2 separate regions of the Homo sapiens genome follow, and region 1 is linked to region 2. The links are contacts of gene promoters, found by promoter capture Hi-C in blood cells and fetal thymus (Javierre and others, 2016). All regions are on one chromosome and are shown on one strand. Each heading gives the region's core, a stretch centred on a gene start or on the middle of the fragment in contact. The rest is flanking DNA. Distances are from core to core; before and after follow the strand shown.

Region 1 (6,665 bases), core at 137-2,636, 170 kb before region 2:
GCCTCAGAGGGAATGGCCCAGTCTGGGGGTGCTTTGCCTGGATTTGATAGAACATCTAGGCAGTTGCCCTCCTTTCCTTCCTGACATGCCAGCAGAAGAGAAATGCCTGGAGATATAAGGCTTGCTTCTTTTCTCTCTGTTTTTAAACCCTCCTCCCCTCCTCAATTCAGGAGCTGGTTTTCCATCCATCCCAGTCGGCAAGAGCCCCATGGTGGAGCAGGCTGTGCAGACTGGTTCTGCTGACAACCTGAATGCTAAAAAGCTGTTACCTGGCAAGGGCACCACAGGGACGCAGCTCAACGGTCGTCAGGCCCAGCCGAGCAGCAAGACGGCCAGCGGTACTTGAACACATCATTTCCTGGAGTTTGCTTGATGTTCTAAAAGTGGCACACTACTTCCTGGGCTATTTTTTTTTTTTTAATTAAAAAAATACTACTCCCCCATCCTAAGCCCCATGTGCTTTTGCAGGGCAGGCCTGTGCAGCAGCCTCCTGCGGTGCCGCCCTGGCCGCGTGCCCCATGGTGGTGGGGCCTGCTTCCACAGCTGGGTTCTGGCTTCCGGCTGCTATAGGAGCTTTGCCTTACTCTTCCCTTTTGCGCCGTAGATGTAGTCCAGCCGGCAGCTGTGCAAGCTCAAGGGCAGGTGAATGACGAGAACAGAAGACCTCAGAGGAGGCGATCAGGTAACACCTGTTGCCACTTGATTTCTGGGGACCACGAGTGATCAGGCTGAGCTCTGCTTGCCCTCCTGCCTGCTTCTCTGGTTGACGGTTTCAGGGGTGCTGGTGTGAAGTCGCTGCTTGTGTGCTCTGTTCCTTCTGTGGCCTTGGGGGTGTGCCTGGAAATTCCTTGTGAGGTGTTTGAGATCACTGGGTTGGTGACCTACTTCAGCCAGGGCTGTCCTTTGTCCTCACAGGAAACAGGCGAACAAGGAATCGCTCCAGAGGGCAAAACCGTCCAACTAACGTTAAGGAAAACACAATCAAATTTGAGGGTGACTTTGATTTCGAGAGTGCAAATGCCCAGTTCAACCGAGAGGAGCTTGACAAAGAATTTAAGAAGAAACTGAATTTTAAAGGTTTGGCTCATTATATGAAAATTATTCTCTGCACAGGAGTACCCCTAGAGAGTGTTAGGAGGAGATGCCTGGCCGGGTGTGGTGGTTCACGCCTGTAATCTCAGCACTTTGGGAGGCTGAGGTGGGTGGATCACCTGAGGTCAGGAGTTCAACACCAGCCTGGCCAACACAATGAAACCCCATCTGTACTAAAAATCCAAAAATTAGCCAGGCGTGGTGGTGGGCGCCTGTAATCCCAGCTACTCGGGAGACTGAGACAGGAGAATCGTTTGAACCCAGGAGGTGGAGGTTGCAGTGGGAGTGAGCCAAGATTGCGCCACTGCACTCCAGCCGGGCGATAGAGCAAGACTCTGTCTCAAGGAAAAGGAAGAGATGCCTAGAGGAACCGGGGATGCCAGGCGGATGGTGACCGGCAGTGAGGAATTAATGAAGTGAGGTGCTGGGAGGTGTGAAAATGGGTGGGATAAGGTGCAGACTGCACAGCCCAGACGGCAGAACGAGACCTGTACTTAGAAGGTAGAAGAAGAGATTTCTGCTTTGCACAAGGCATAGTTGATGTCTTAGCTTGAGGGTGGCTTCCGAGTGAGCCCGGAGGGACCACCCTGCTAAAAGGCTGTGCGCTCTGCCCCTCCTCCATCTCCACGTGTTCTGCTTCTTTTTGTAGATGACAAGGCTGAGAAGGGGGAAGAGAAGGACCTGGCTGTGGTGACCCAGAGTGCCGAAGCGCCCGCTGAGGAAGACCTTCTGGGGCCCAACTGCTACTATGACAAATCCAAGTCGTTCTTCGACAACATCTCTTCTGAACTCAAGACCAGGTGAGAGGCTGAATGAATGAGGGGAGGACAGTCCTCCAATCTAGAAAGGACAGGGCTGAGGGCTCTCAACCTGAGGGCAGAGCTGGACTCTGAGGCTCAGGGTAGCTGTTCTAGGGTCCTGCTTGCGTTTCTGCATGATGGGTGCCGGAGTCCCAGCAGGTTGCGTGTGGGAAGCCTCTTGGGGATCCCGACCCGAGGAGTTGGCTGAGGTCGAGCCTGTTTCCTCTTGGCTTTGCTGCCCTGTCCCCACAAAGGCTGGGCTGCACCGCCCCCCCCGGCAGACCCGTGTCCACATTCAGCATACCTCACGGTGCTCTGCTTGCTGGTCCCGCTGGCCTGGCAGCCTGAGGTCCTTGCTTAGCAGCCTGAGGTATGGCTAGAACGTGCTCACACTGGCTTTCCTTCACTTCATTGTTTGAGGCCAGGGACCATGTGGTGTGTTTTATTTTTCACACCTAACAGCTGGTCAGAAGTCCCGCGAAGCACCCTAGGGAGTGGGTGGCATCTACAGTGTGGGCCTGGCTTGGAAACTTGGGCCCATTTGTCCTGCAGATTGAGCGCCAGACATGCCGCGGGGCGTTGAGGGGGCCTCAGAAGGCAGGCTGGAGAGCGCCACCTCTTCAGGTTCATGTTCTGCCAGGGGAAAAATAGAACAGCATGTCGTGAAGGCCAGGCAGTGAGGGCGATGGGATGGGGCTGTAACTCGATGGGAAGTGGATGATCAGTTCTCACAGGCAGAGCAGGCTGCGCAGATGAGTGCGGGAAGTGCTTCCAGACAGGCCGAGTCTGGGGGATGGGTTCCTGTAGGGTTTTGTAGGGCATGGCAGTGACTTTGGCTTTTGTTCCAAGTGCCGCGGGAAGCCATCAGAGGGTTTTGTGCTGAAGCGTGGTGCGGTCTGATGTTTTACGGCGTCCTTGGTGAGAGTGGTTGGACGGTGGGCAAGTGTGGCTGCTGACTGGCCAGTTAGGGGCCAGTGCTGCAGCACAGGTGGCTTGGAACCAGGCAGTGGTGGTGACAGAGGGAAGGAGTAGAGTCTAAATGTGTCTTGAAGGTGGCGCTAACAGAATTGGCCAACATGACAAGAGAAGAGTCCAGAATGACTCCTAAGTCTTTTGGCCTGGGCGGCTGATGGGTGGAGTTGCTGTTTCTTTGAACACGGAAGTCTGTGGGAGCAGCAGGTTTCCGGCTGAAGAGGAGCTCAGGGTGGGTGTGCTGCTGGAGCTGTTGTCTGCGTCGGTAGGAGTGCTGGGTGGGAGTGCTGGGTGCACAGTTGGATGTGGGAGATAGTCTCCCACCAGCAGCTTGTTTGGGTGGCATGAGTGTCCATGCTGTATCCCTGTCTTTCAAACTCCCAAAGCAGAAGCATCACATTCCAGGGAACTTGTTCCATCTATCCTAGCCTCCTCCTTGTCTAGGAGGGTCCACTTCATGGTCCGGTCTCAGGTCTCCTGGGCCCCTGGGCCTCCCCAGGGCTCCTCTCTGTGCCCAGCGAGCAACAGCGGCTGCCTTGGTAGCCAACTAGTATCACTGCTTGCCTGTGGTGCCAGAGATGGTAGAGATGGATCCCGATCCCCGGCCCACTGTGGAGACAGTCCTGGTTGGAAACGTGGCAGGGAGCACCTGCAGTGCCGGAGCTGGGCTCCAGAGCTGACGGGGCCGCCCCTTCCCTGTAGTGGCCCTGGTGAGTCTGTCCCTCCTTCCCTGGGCCGCTCTGAGGACGAGGCCTGGCCAGAAGCCTGGGAGTCAGTGCCTGCTACAATCAGCATTTCCTCTGTGGTTTAGCTCCAGGCGGACGACGTGGGCCGAAGAGAGGAAGCTCAACACAGAGACCTTTGGGGTGTCAGGGAGGTTTCTTCGTGGCCGCAGTTCTCGGGGCGGATTCCGAGGAGGCAGGGGCAATGGGACCACCCGTCGCAACCCCACTTCCCACAGGGCCGGGACTGGCAGGGTGTGAGGGTGCAGCCAAAGGTGAGTGGATGAACCTTCTGGACGCTTTGGTGGGAGGGTGTAGGGTCAGGCACACCTGGAGAGCTTAGGAAGGTGGGGAGCAGGCTCGGTTTCCCAGGAAGAAGAGAGGCCCAGAGGTGTCAAAGCCAAACCGAGGGCCTCGACCCTATGAGTCACCCGGGAGGCTCTTGGCCAACTTCAACCTGCATCTGTGGGGGTAGGATCCAGGCCCCAGCATCCTCCAAGTGAGATTGCAGGTATGGGAGGTGAGGTGGTGCGGGAGTCGCGTGGGCTGGGGGCTCACCACCCAGGTGAAGCCAGCAAGTGAGACCTTGCTCCAAAGCCAGTGTCTTGGCCCAACCCGGCCCTAAGTGAATCAGAGGCTTCATTTTTAACCAGGTCCCAGTGGATTTGTGGGCACCTTAGGGTTTGGGCGGAGCGTCCCACATGGGGTGCCTGGTGCCAACCCCACCCAGCGCCTCGGGACAGCCAGGTGGGCCCTGGAAAGACTAGCCCTCCTGCCACTAGCTGCGTCCCTGTCCCCAGTGTATTGTACAAGTAGGATTCTCAGAGTGGGTTGTGAGAAGAATGGGGGTAGCCAGTCTGACTCTGGGGGCAGGAGGGAGGCTGAGTGGCTCCTGCTCGCCAGCAGGGGCAACAGTGCTAGCTTATCCCAGCAGATGCTTGACTTCCTGTCATCTCTTGCAGGCTCCTACTGAAGTGGCGCATAACTGACGCTGTGTGTGTCAGGACGCGAGGAAAACGCTGCACTTACAGGGAGAGGTGGTCACTTTGTTTACGGAGTTTGGAAGAGACCCATACTGCTACTTGTGTTTTGGACTTAACTGAACTTGGACATGGTCTGAGTTAGAACCACTTGTTTTGGGGAAGTATTCATGGGTAACCTCTTTGAGGTCTCTTTATCTGTGTTTCCTTTTTAGTTGCGCATAGCCTAATTCTAAGGTTTTGGTATTTTGCAAAAAGGTTTCTATAGTGAAAGCTGAATCCTTACTTTGTGACTTTTTTTTTTTTTTTTAATGACAAGCTTTGACTTTTAAAAGTGGAACCAAATCTGTTGGCAGAGGTGGCAGCCAAGTACATCTCTGTAACCCAGCTGGCCCCTGGTGCTGTTGGCCTGGCACCCCACTGCCAAGGGTGGGGTCTCAGGAGTCAGGCAGGGCCAGCACAGGGTGGCGTGGGGGGCAGGGGTGGGTGGGTGGAGGGCACGGAAGGGGTTTTCCCATGGATCATGTTGTATAAGTGAACCAGACCACCCTGATGGCATCCACAGTGATGTCAAGGTTGGGGCTGGCCAGGGGTGGGTGGACTAGAAGCATTTGGGAGTAGTGGCCAGGGGCCCTGGACGCTAGCCACGGAGCTGCTGCACAGAGCCTGGTGTCCACAAGCTTCCAGGTTGGGGTTGGAGCCTGGGATGAGCCCCGGCAGCGCCTTGGCCCTTCTGTGGTCCCTGCCAGCCTCTGACCTGGGCCGGTCAGTCATTGCTGGACTCTGGCCACACACTGGCGTTCTCATCCACTTGGAAACAAGCCAGTCTTTTCTGCAAGGTCAGTTGACCAAGAGCATATTTCCCCTCTGTTGTACATCGTTGTTTTGTGTTTGTGTTGTAACAGTGGGTGGAGGGAGGGTGGGGTCTACATTTGTTGCATGAGTCGATGGGTCAGAACTTTAGTATACGCATGCGTCCTCTGAGTGACAGGGCATTTTGTCGAAAATAAGCACCTTGGTAACTAAACCCCTCTAATAGCTATAAAGGCTTTAGTTCTGTATTGATTAAGTTACTGTAAAAGCTTGGGTTTATTTTTGTAGGACTTAATGGCTAAGAATTAGAACATAGCAAGGGGGCTCCTCTGTTGGAGTAATGTAAATTGTAATTATAAATAAACATGCAAACCTTTAAAATTTTCTTTTCTGATGCTCTAAGAATCCTGTTGACTCTTCTGCCCAAGTCACCTCTGCATCATGTCCAGGTCTGGAGCACACACTTAGGCTGGTGGAATTTGGGGAGACTTGGGCCCCATCAGGTGATGGAACGAGGTGGCTGACCCAATTGGTCGGGTGAAGTGCGGCCAGCAGACCCGGGTTCTCCCTGTGGGCCACCCTTCTGGGATGAATGGCTCTGCTCTCAGAAACTGGATACAAAGTTCTTTTAAAAACCCAGCTCACAGATAACACCTGTATCATAAGCAGTGGCCCCTTTGCCACCTTCCTGCTGCCTCCAAGCTCCCCAGCTCAGGAGCGTTCAGGTTCTCAGGCACCGTAGAGCATGTTACACAGCCATGAGCAAGCTGCACCCTGGACCCACGCAGAAAAACAAAGACATGGCTGGTTCTAGGCTCAGAGCATCCCATTTTAGTCTAATGGGTTTCCAGGTGACCTTAAAAGTGGCCCTCAGAGAGGACGAGGAGACACACCAGCTGCATGAGTTCTCCTTTCATTACCTGCCTGTGGCCATCAGGCTCCACAGCAGAACTGCCAGTGGGGGGCCCTCCCATTTCTTGGGTGGGGGTAATGGGTATCCTTGACCAGCAGAAAAATAAATGTTACGTGTGCCAGATACTGGTGGCCACAGTCCTCACCCAGCTAGAGAACTTGGTGAAACAGGTATTGCCTCCCAGAGCATCGCAAGGTAGTCAGGTTATCGTGTGCCAGCTGACCTTGCTGTTAAAATGTTCATTGTTTTGACAACTGTACATTTTACGCTGAGCTCAAAATGTATCTGGGCCCCTTTACTCCTTTTTAGAAGATACATGCCCAAAACCAAGGACCAGAGGACCCAAAAGCCTTAAACTGTGGGACTAGAAGTC
Region 2 (7,491 bases), core at 2,578-5,077:
ACGTGGACCTCGACGCGAATGGCGGGCTCTGGGCGCTGACCCGGTGGCGGCGTAGCTCACCGAACACCCAGGGGGACCAGAACTCTCTGCCTTCCACTCAGTTGTGACTTGTCTATTTTTAAAATGTTAAAAAAAAAAAAAACCCACAAGGTGCAGTGGCTCACACCTGTAATCCCAGCCTTTGGGAGGTTGAGGCGGGTGGATCGCTCAAGCTCAGGAGTTCGAGACCAACCTGGCCCACATGGTGAAACCCTGTCTCTAATAAAAATACAAAAATTAACCGGGTCTGGTGACACATGCCTGTAATCCCAGCTACTCAGGAGGCTGAGGTAGGAGAACTGCTTGAACTCAGGAGGCGGGGGCTGCAATGAGCTGAGATCAAGCCACTGCACTCCAGCCTATGGGATAGAGTGAGATTCCATCTCAAAAAAAAAAAAAAAAAAAAAAAAGTTTAAAAAACCCTACCCCTGCCAAATGCTTTTCCGAAGTAGCCGTGCCATTGGTGTTTCCAACTTTGCCTGGCACCTTCCATCGTTTGCTAAGTTCCAGCAGGTGTATTTCATTTGCATTTCCCTCATGAATAATGGTGTTGAGCAGCTTGCCATGGTGCCTTTGCTGCCTGTGACCTCTTTGGTGAAACATCCGGAGGTGTCTTCTGCCCACGTGGAGGCGCAGCCTGGGCTCTGCCGCCCACCTTTCACCCGAGGAGCCTGCAGCACGTGGAGAGCATCAGGGTGTGCTTTCTTTACAGTTTGGGGCTTTTTTGAGACAGGGTCTCGCTCTGTCACCCAGGCTGCAGTGCAGTGGTGCCATCACGGCTCACCGCCAGCCTTGACCTTCACCTCAGCCTCCCAAGTAGCTGAGACTACAGGCATGCACCGCCATGGCTGGCTCTTTTTTAATTTGTCTTTTTCTAAAGACAGGGTCTCACTGTCTTGATTAAGCTGGTCTTGGAACTCCTGGGCTTCAAGGGACCCTCTCAGCTCGGCCTCCCAAAGTGCTGGGATTGCAGGTGTGAGCCATCATGCAAGTCTGGGGTTGTTTTTTTTTTGCTAAACAGGATGAATAGAAATCTCTTTTGGGGGATCTCTTAGTCCAAATCCTTTAGCTGAATGCGCGTGTCCCGGTGAGGCTGCTCCTCTAGATGCTGCGGGCATTTTGCAGACGTCCCACCAACTGCCATCAGCGACCAATTAGAAGATAGGGACAGCTGCACATGTCACACAGCCCTTCTGACCTTGTGTGTGCTTCAAGTCCGAGATTCCTGACACAAAGCAGCGTGTGCCCCCCCACCCACTCTGTGGCCACAGCTGGAGTCCTGGGCTGCTGGGTGCTCCAGGTGCCATACCCCACACACGCATAGAGCCCGTGGGCTGGCAGCGGGCACCCACAGTGGCCTCTGCAAAGCCTGCCTGGCTGCGGCTCGTTTCCTCACTGCAGCATGCTCATAGGAATGTGGGAGTTTCGCTTGAAGTGTGGGTAAAGAGTTCTGGGGTTGTTTGAGCCATCCCAGGCCACAGGGCCTCCAGGAAGTGGAGGAAATGGTAAATCCAGGGTCCTCTTGGCCACTGCGTTGGCCTCTGCACACTTGGCCCCTGCGGACCCTGGGGCTTCTGCTTTACTGTCTGTGACATAAACAAGTGACGCTTGCCACCTTCTTGCCGGGAAAGCCAGGCTGGGTTTTCTCATTTCCACCTTTTCCCTGTTTTACACGAGGGCACGAGGATGGGGCTGCAGTATCAGTGACGCACCTGTCACCAGCGGGCCACAGAGCTTTGTGTTAGCCCCTCTCAAGCCCTTTAGCTTCTGGAACCGTTTAAATTCTTAAAAATTATACAGGACCCCAAAGAGCTTTTGTTTATGTGAGCTTTATCTATTGACATTTACCATACTAGGAATTAAGAGGACATTTAAAATTATTTAGCTACATAAAAATAACAATAACAAACTTACTACCTGTTAACACACATTTTAAAATGAAAAGTGGCTACATTTTCCAAAACAAAAAACGTGAATCTTTAGCTCAATCAATGTTTCAAATGGAAGCATTATGACAGTCAAAAGCTGGCAACTAAACATAACTGGCACAAGCTCTGCCACCGAGACAATGGAGGCCTGAGTAGTAGGCTCCCTGCAGAATGAAAGGACTGGAGCTGCCAGCATCAACACCAACGCATCTCCCAACAAGGGTGAGTGAAAACACACACCTAAAGACCTCAGAGAGCACGTAAGCACACAGCTGTGCATCCACTCTGAGGGTGAGCCACCAAGCACACGGTGACCCCGGGGAGCGCCCGAAGGGAGTGAAGTATCTGAAGGAAAGAAGGAAGTGAGCGATGGGCAAAGGAGAACCTGAGGACCCTGGCACAGTCTCAGCTGCAAACATCTAGTCTTGCTTAACTGGGGTGCAGAGGCCACTGCACCTCAGGGTTCTCACGAAGCGCCTGACCTCTCTATTTTATTACTATTATTATTATTATTTTTTTTTTTTGAGAAGGAGTCTTCCTCTGTCGCCCAGGCTGGAGTGCAGTGGTGCAATCTCGGCTCACTGCAACCTCCACCTCCCGGGTTCAGGCGATTCTCGTGCATCAGCCTCCTGAGTAGATGGAATTACAGGCATGTGCCAGCATACCTGGCTAATTTTTGCATTTTTAGTAGAGTCGGGGTTTCATTCACCATGTTGCCCAGGCTGGTCTTGAACTCCTGGCCTCAAGTAATCCGCCCGCCTCGGCCTCCCAAAGTTCTGGGTTTACAGGCGTGAGCCACCGCGCCTGAGCCCTCTAAGAGCCCCCGCCTGGCGTCGCTGTAGGCAAATCCCAAAGAACGTGTCCCTTCAGCAGCCGGCTGGGGCGCCACAAACACTATCTGTTGTCTTCGCTTTAGTTTGTGTCAAAGTGACTCAAAGTTACACAACACTGGCGGGCGACTGCCGCCTTTTTACCCTGTGGCCTTTCCCATCCAGGCGTCCAGAGGGTGAGCCCCTGCCCTCCAGGACCCCTCCCTTCCAGGACCCTACCCGTCTGGGACTCAGGCCTTCCCTGACTCCTCCCTCCCGGACTCACCCCTCCCAGATCCCTCCCCTCCGGGACCCTCTCCCCTCCCGGGCCCCCTCCCCTCCGGGAACCCCTCCCCTCCCGGACTCACCCCTCCCAGATCCCTCCCCTCCAGGAGCCCCTCCCCTCTCGGGACCCCTCTCCTCCCGGACCCACCCCTTCCTGACCCCTGCCCTCCCGGACCCCTGCGGGACTAGATGTATACAGCTGAGACCATATCACGGTTCTCACCCTCGCTCTACCCTCCCGGACCCCTGCTCTCCCGGACGCGTGGACTCCAGCTCCCGCCTGGGTCCCCAAAGCGCTGAACCCATGGTCACTTCTATGCGTAGCCCTGGTGCCCGCCGCCCACAGCCGGACCGCACTCCTCGGCCTCCGCCTAACCCCTGGCTCAGCCACACGAGTGACAGCTCTGCCCGCCCGGGCGGGCGACGCCGAGGGGTGGGCTCGGCCCCACCTGAGCAGTTCCCCAGCGCCCCTCTGAAACCCGCCTGTGGTCCCTGGCGCCGCCTCTAGGGGCCGCCGCCGCTCCCCTATGACACAGCAACAATAGGGGCCGCTCTGGTCCAAGCGCCCTGCGGCCCGCGCTTCCGCCGGAAAAGAGCCGCCGGCGCGGGGGCGGACCGGGGAGGAGCGAGTGCGATGGACGGTCGCCCTCGCCAATCGTTGGCAGGTTAGAGCCGGCTGCGCGGCTTACGGGGCTCAATCGGCGGCGAGAGCGGCAGGCGGGGCGGGCCGAACGCGGGTTTCCGGCGGGGCCCGGCAGGCGCCGAGGAGGAAGAGCGAGCCCGGACGGCGCCTCTCGAACGAGTGTGGGCGCGAGGCAGGTGCGGGAGTCGCCGGGCCTGGGGCGGCCGGGGGCGACCGGAGGCGGGGGCAGGGGCTGCTGGACCAAGGATGGGGCGGGGGCAGCCAAGACGAGAAGGTGGCCGGCGCGGCGGGTGGGGCCTGCGGGGGCCGGGCCGGGCGGGGGTTCTGGGGTCTCGGGCGCCGCCCCGGTTCCGCCTGCGGCTCTGAACGTGGGGCTCGGCGGGAGCTCGGGCGGGTCTGCCCCGCGGAGCGGGTCGCCGGGGTGGCGCGTCGAGGCTGGTGCCCCGCGGAGACGGCGTCAAGCCTAGGGCCGGCCCCACTAGGCTTGGCGGGGCTGCCCCGGCCCAGCGCCGAGTGCGGGCGGTGCGATCGTCGTGAGCGGGGCAAACGCGGAAAGGCAGCCCGGCGTGTCTGAGTCTGCCTTAGGCAGCTCTGGGCGCAGGCCCCCTGCTCGCAAACACCCCAGGGGGCGGGAGCTTGCCGGACCGCAGGCGACAGTGACCGCCGCGTCTCAGCGTCCTCTCCGCGCTTTCAGGATGACGACCTCAGGCGCGCTCTTTCCAAGCCTGGTGCCAGGCTCTCGGGGCGCCTCCAACAAGTACTTGGTGGAGTTTCGGGCGGGAAAGATGTCCCTGAAGGGGACCACCGTGACTCCGGATAAGCGGAAAGGGCTGGTGTACATTCAGCAGACGGACGACTCGCTTATTCACTTCTGCTGGAAGGACAGGACGTCCGGGAACGTGGAAGACGTGAGTGTCCCTGAGCCGCAGCAGCAGGACAGGCGACTTCTCGGGCCCTCGGAGTCCTCGCTTTGGAGTTCGCGGTGGGGGCTTGGCCGCATCTGGGGACCGCTCGTGGGGCCGTCATCGACTGCCCTGCTGATGGGTCGTCCTGGTTTCCGCGGTGACAGGGGCATCTCGGCCACTGTGTATCTTGAACTGTCCGTGTGAGGTGCCTGGGTTGGAGGTGTGGCCCTGGAGAGCCCGGAGCTCTGTGCCTGGCCTTGAACTGTCCGTGTGAGGTGCCTGGGGTTGGAGGTGTGGCCCTGGAGAGCCTGGAGCTCTGTGCCTGGCGGCTTCACTCAGTCTTCTTTGTTTTTCAAACTCTTAGTTGTTCTTTGTTACATTTGAGAGCAGTTCAGCGTTGACTTTTTAACTACTCTGGGAATGTTGTTTCCAGCACGTCTCAGAAACCCCGTTGCCATCTGAAAGGCCCCTTTCCCTGCTCTCTCCCCCGGCCTTGCCTTTCATGGGCTGTCTCTGACCCTGGCTTCTCTGCCTTGTGGAGACCCTGCCAGCGAGGGGTCTGGCGGCTTAGCTGCCCCTTGCGCACCCCACCCGGTTAGACCCAGGGCTCAGTACGCTCTCCTGAGACTGGGCACAGTGATGCCATCTGCGCCACTGACTCTCTCTTCCCCTGGCTTGCCAGGACTTGATCATCTTCCCTGACGACTGTGAGTTCAAGCGGGTGCCGCAGTGCCCCAGCGGGAGGGTCTACGTGCTGAAGTTCAAGGCAGGGTCCAAGCGGCTTTTCTTCTGGATGCAGGTATGGGGCAGGCCTTGGGGTTGTGCCTTTTTGTTGCCCTGCGATTCGGTTAGGAACTTGCTTACAGTGTGGTGCAATTGGCTTTTATAAACCAGCAGGCGCCGGCCACACCCGGCCACACGGCCTGAGATGCCACCTCAGGGCTGCGGTGCATGCTACCTGGGGCCGAGGTCCTCTCCCAGAGTACGGAGGCTCCAGGCTGGGCTGCGGGCAACCGATTGCGGTGTGAAATTTCCAGGCAGACAGACATGCTGGCCCTGGTTCTAACGATGCCCAGTGCCCTCTCTCTGCCCCTTGCCGTGGGTCACTGAGGCCCCCACAGCAGAGGCAGAGGCCCCTGTGTGGCTTCCCTGCTGGTGCTCACAGAAACGAAGCATCCTGCTCACACTTTCCACAGTCCTGCCCCTTCCCTGGCAGTGTGTCCTGGAGGCCAGGGGTGTCAGTGCCCAGGGTTTCTCTTACCCACAGCTGCAGAGCGTCTTTTGGGTCTAGAGGCCGCTGCTCATTCTGCCATCTGTCAGTGACCATTGAGCTTGTTGCCGTTTTTTGTGCTGTTACAGGCAGTGTTGCAAAGAATTTCCCGGTACACAGATCATTTTCCATAAGCCAGTATCATCTGTAGGTGAAAACTGGTGGCGGGCCTGTGGTCAGGAAGCGTGTGCATGCGTTTGCAGTGTGGAGAGAGAAGGCCATGCTCTCTGCCAGAGGTGGAGCTGCTGTCCCCACCCCACCCCCCTTGGCACTTTCAAGAGCAGGGGTGGCCCTGGCTGAGGTCTCTGTGGAGCACATGGTCTGTGTTGCTGGTCACCTGTGCAAGTAGTGTGCAGCGGCCTGAGAAAATGAACAGGCATAGCCAAACTCCAGTTAAACTTTATTTGCAAACACAGATGGCGGCCACAATTTGCCACCTGCTGGTGTAGAACGTGTTTTTCCACGGTTTTGCCAAGAAATAGTGTCCAACTGTTACCACCATCTCCCTTTTTTCCCCGATTTTCCTGTTGGTGGCTTTTAAGTCCCCCGTCCCTGCTTTGCCATGAGAGCAGGGACTCCCAGTGTCCCTGGCGCCCTGCAGCTTCCATAGCCATTCGGGGTGTGCGTGGGTGCTCTGCTCCCAGCTCTGTGAGCTCGCAGGTCGATGCTTCTGACACTGATCTGTGCACATGTGTGTGCACACGCGTGTGCTCGATTGTGAGCGCCTGCCGTGGCCCTGGGCCGCGGTGTGCTGAGCGGGCCAGTTCGCTGCCTTCCACTGGTTGAAGGAAGGAGACGGGTGTGTAAAGAACCGCACCCCAGAGGGCAGGAGGGTGAGAGGGCTTGGTCTGGCAGCAGCTAAGTGCCTTCGGAGCTCTAGGCTCCCCATTTGTGAAATGGGCGGAGGGGGACAGGGCACACCCGGGATTGCGGCGGATGGGGACAGGGCGCAGAGCATCGTGCTCAGGAGGCGCCACTGCCGTCCCCTCACCTGCTGGGCCGGGTCCTGTCTCCTCAGCATTGTGTGGCCAGGCACACGCGCCTCTGCGTCTCAGGTCCCTCACCTGGAAGCCAGGTCAGAGGATGGCTGTGGTGGCCCTGGGTGAGCTGGCGCCAGCTCCTGCCCTTACATGCCCTTCCTCTTGCAGGAACCCAAGACAGACCAGGATGAGGAGCATTGCCGGAAAGTCAACGAGTATCTGAACAACCCCCCGATGCCTGGGGCGCTGGGGGCCAGCGGAAGCAGCGGCCACGAACTCTCTGCGCTAGGCGGTAACTGTCACATGTGTCACGTGAGCTCAGGGTTTCCTGGGAGGCCAGAGTCTACTGTGGATGACTCGCCCCCTCAGCACAGGTTGTTTGGAAGTGGAAATAGAAGATTCTAAAAGTTAGAGACCCTGTGAGCTCCCTGGGTCACTCCCCACTCCCACCTTCACGGGGTAGGACGGGTCTGCATCCCACCGTCGCCTCACTTCAAGTGGTGCCCCCTGTAGGGTTCAGGGGCAGCCGAGTGCGGTGCTCAGCAGAGGCGCAGGCAGTGCGGTGGGGCCCGCGTGGATCTGGCTGGGGCAGGCCCGCCTGAGCTGCAGTGTTTTCCAGGTGAGGGTGGCCT

The links. The method cuts DNA at HindIII sites, captures the fragments that hold promoters and counts their contacts. A CHiCAGO score of 5 or more calls a contact.
Region 1: a fragment that was not itself captured here is called in contact with the fragment with the promoter of ADRM1 in region 2 in 1 of 17 cell types (neutrophils); the score reaches 5.8 in neutrophils.

What each region holds. Positions count from the first base shown.
Region 1 is chr20:62,129,615-62,136,279 of GRCh38, forward strand. It overlaps LSM14B (LSM family member 14B), which reads left to right. Exons shown (of 9, transcript NM_144703.3): 4 at 171-338; 5 at 605-682; 6 at 916-1,077; 7 at 1,742-1,892; 8 at 3,676-3,861; 9 at 4,549-5,760. The coding sequence ends at 3,847. Among named protein-coding and RNA genes, the nearest start is that of PSMA7, 10 kb to the right of the region's middle. RefSeq lists an enhancer at 4,229-4,728. The HindIII fragment of the contact is 6,993 bases long and covers 1-4,883 here.
Region 2 is chr20:62,299,170-62,306,660 of GRCh38, forward strand. It overlaps ADRM1 (ADRM1 26S proteasome ubiquitin receptor), which reads left to right and starts at 3,828. Exons shown (of 10, transcript NM_007002.4): 1 at 3,828-3,880; 2 at 4,399-4,612; 3 at 5,292-5,408; 4 at 7,028-7,151; 5 at 7,479-7,491. The coding sequence starts at 4,400. RefSeq lists silencers at 3,338-3,457, 3,478-3,937 and an enhancer at 6,617-7,120. The HindIII fragment of the contact is 19,122 bases long and covers 1-7,491 here.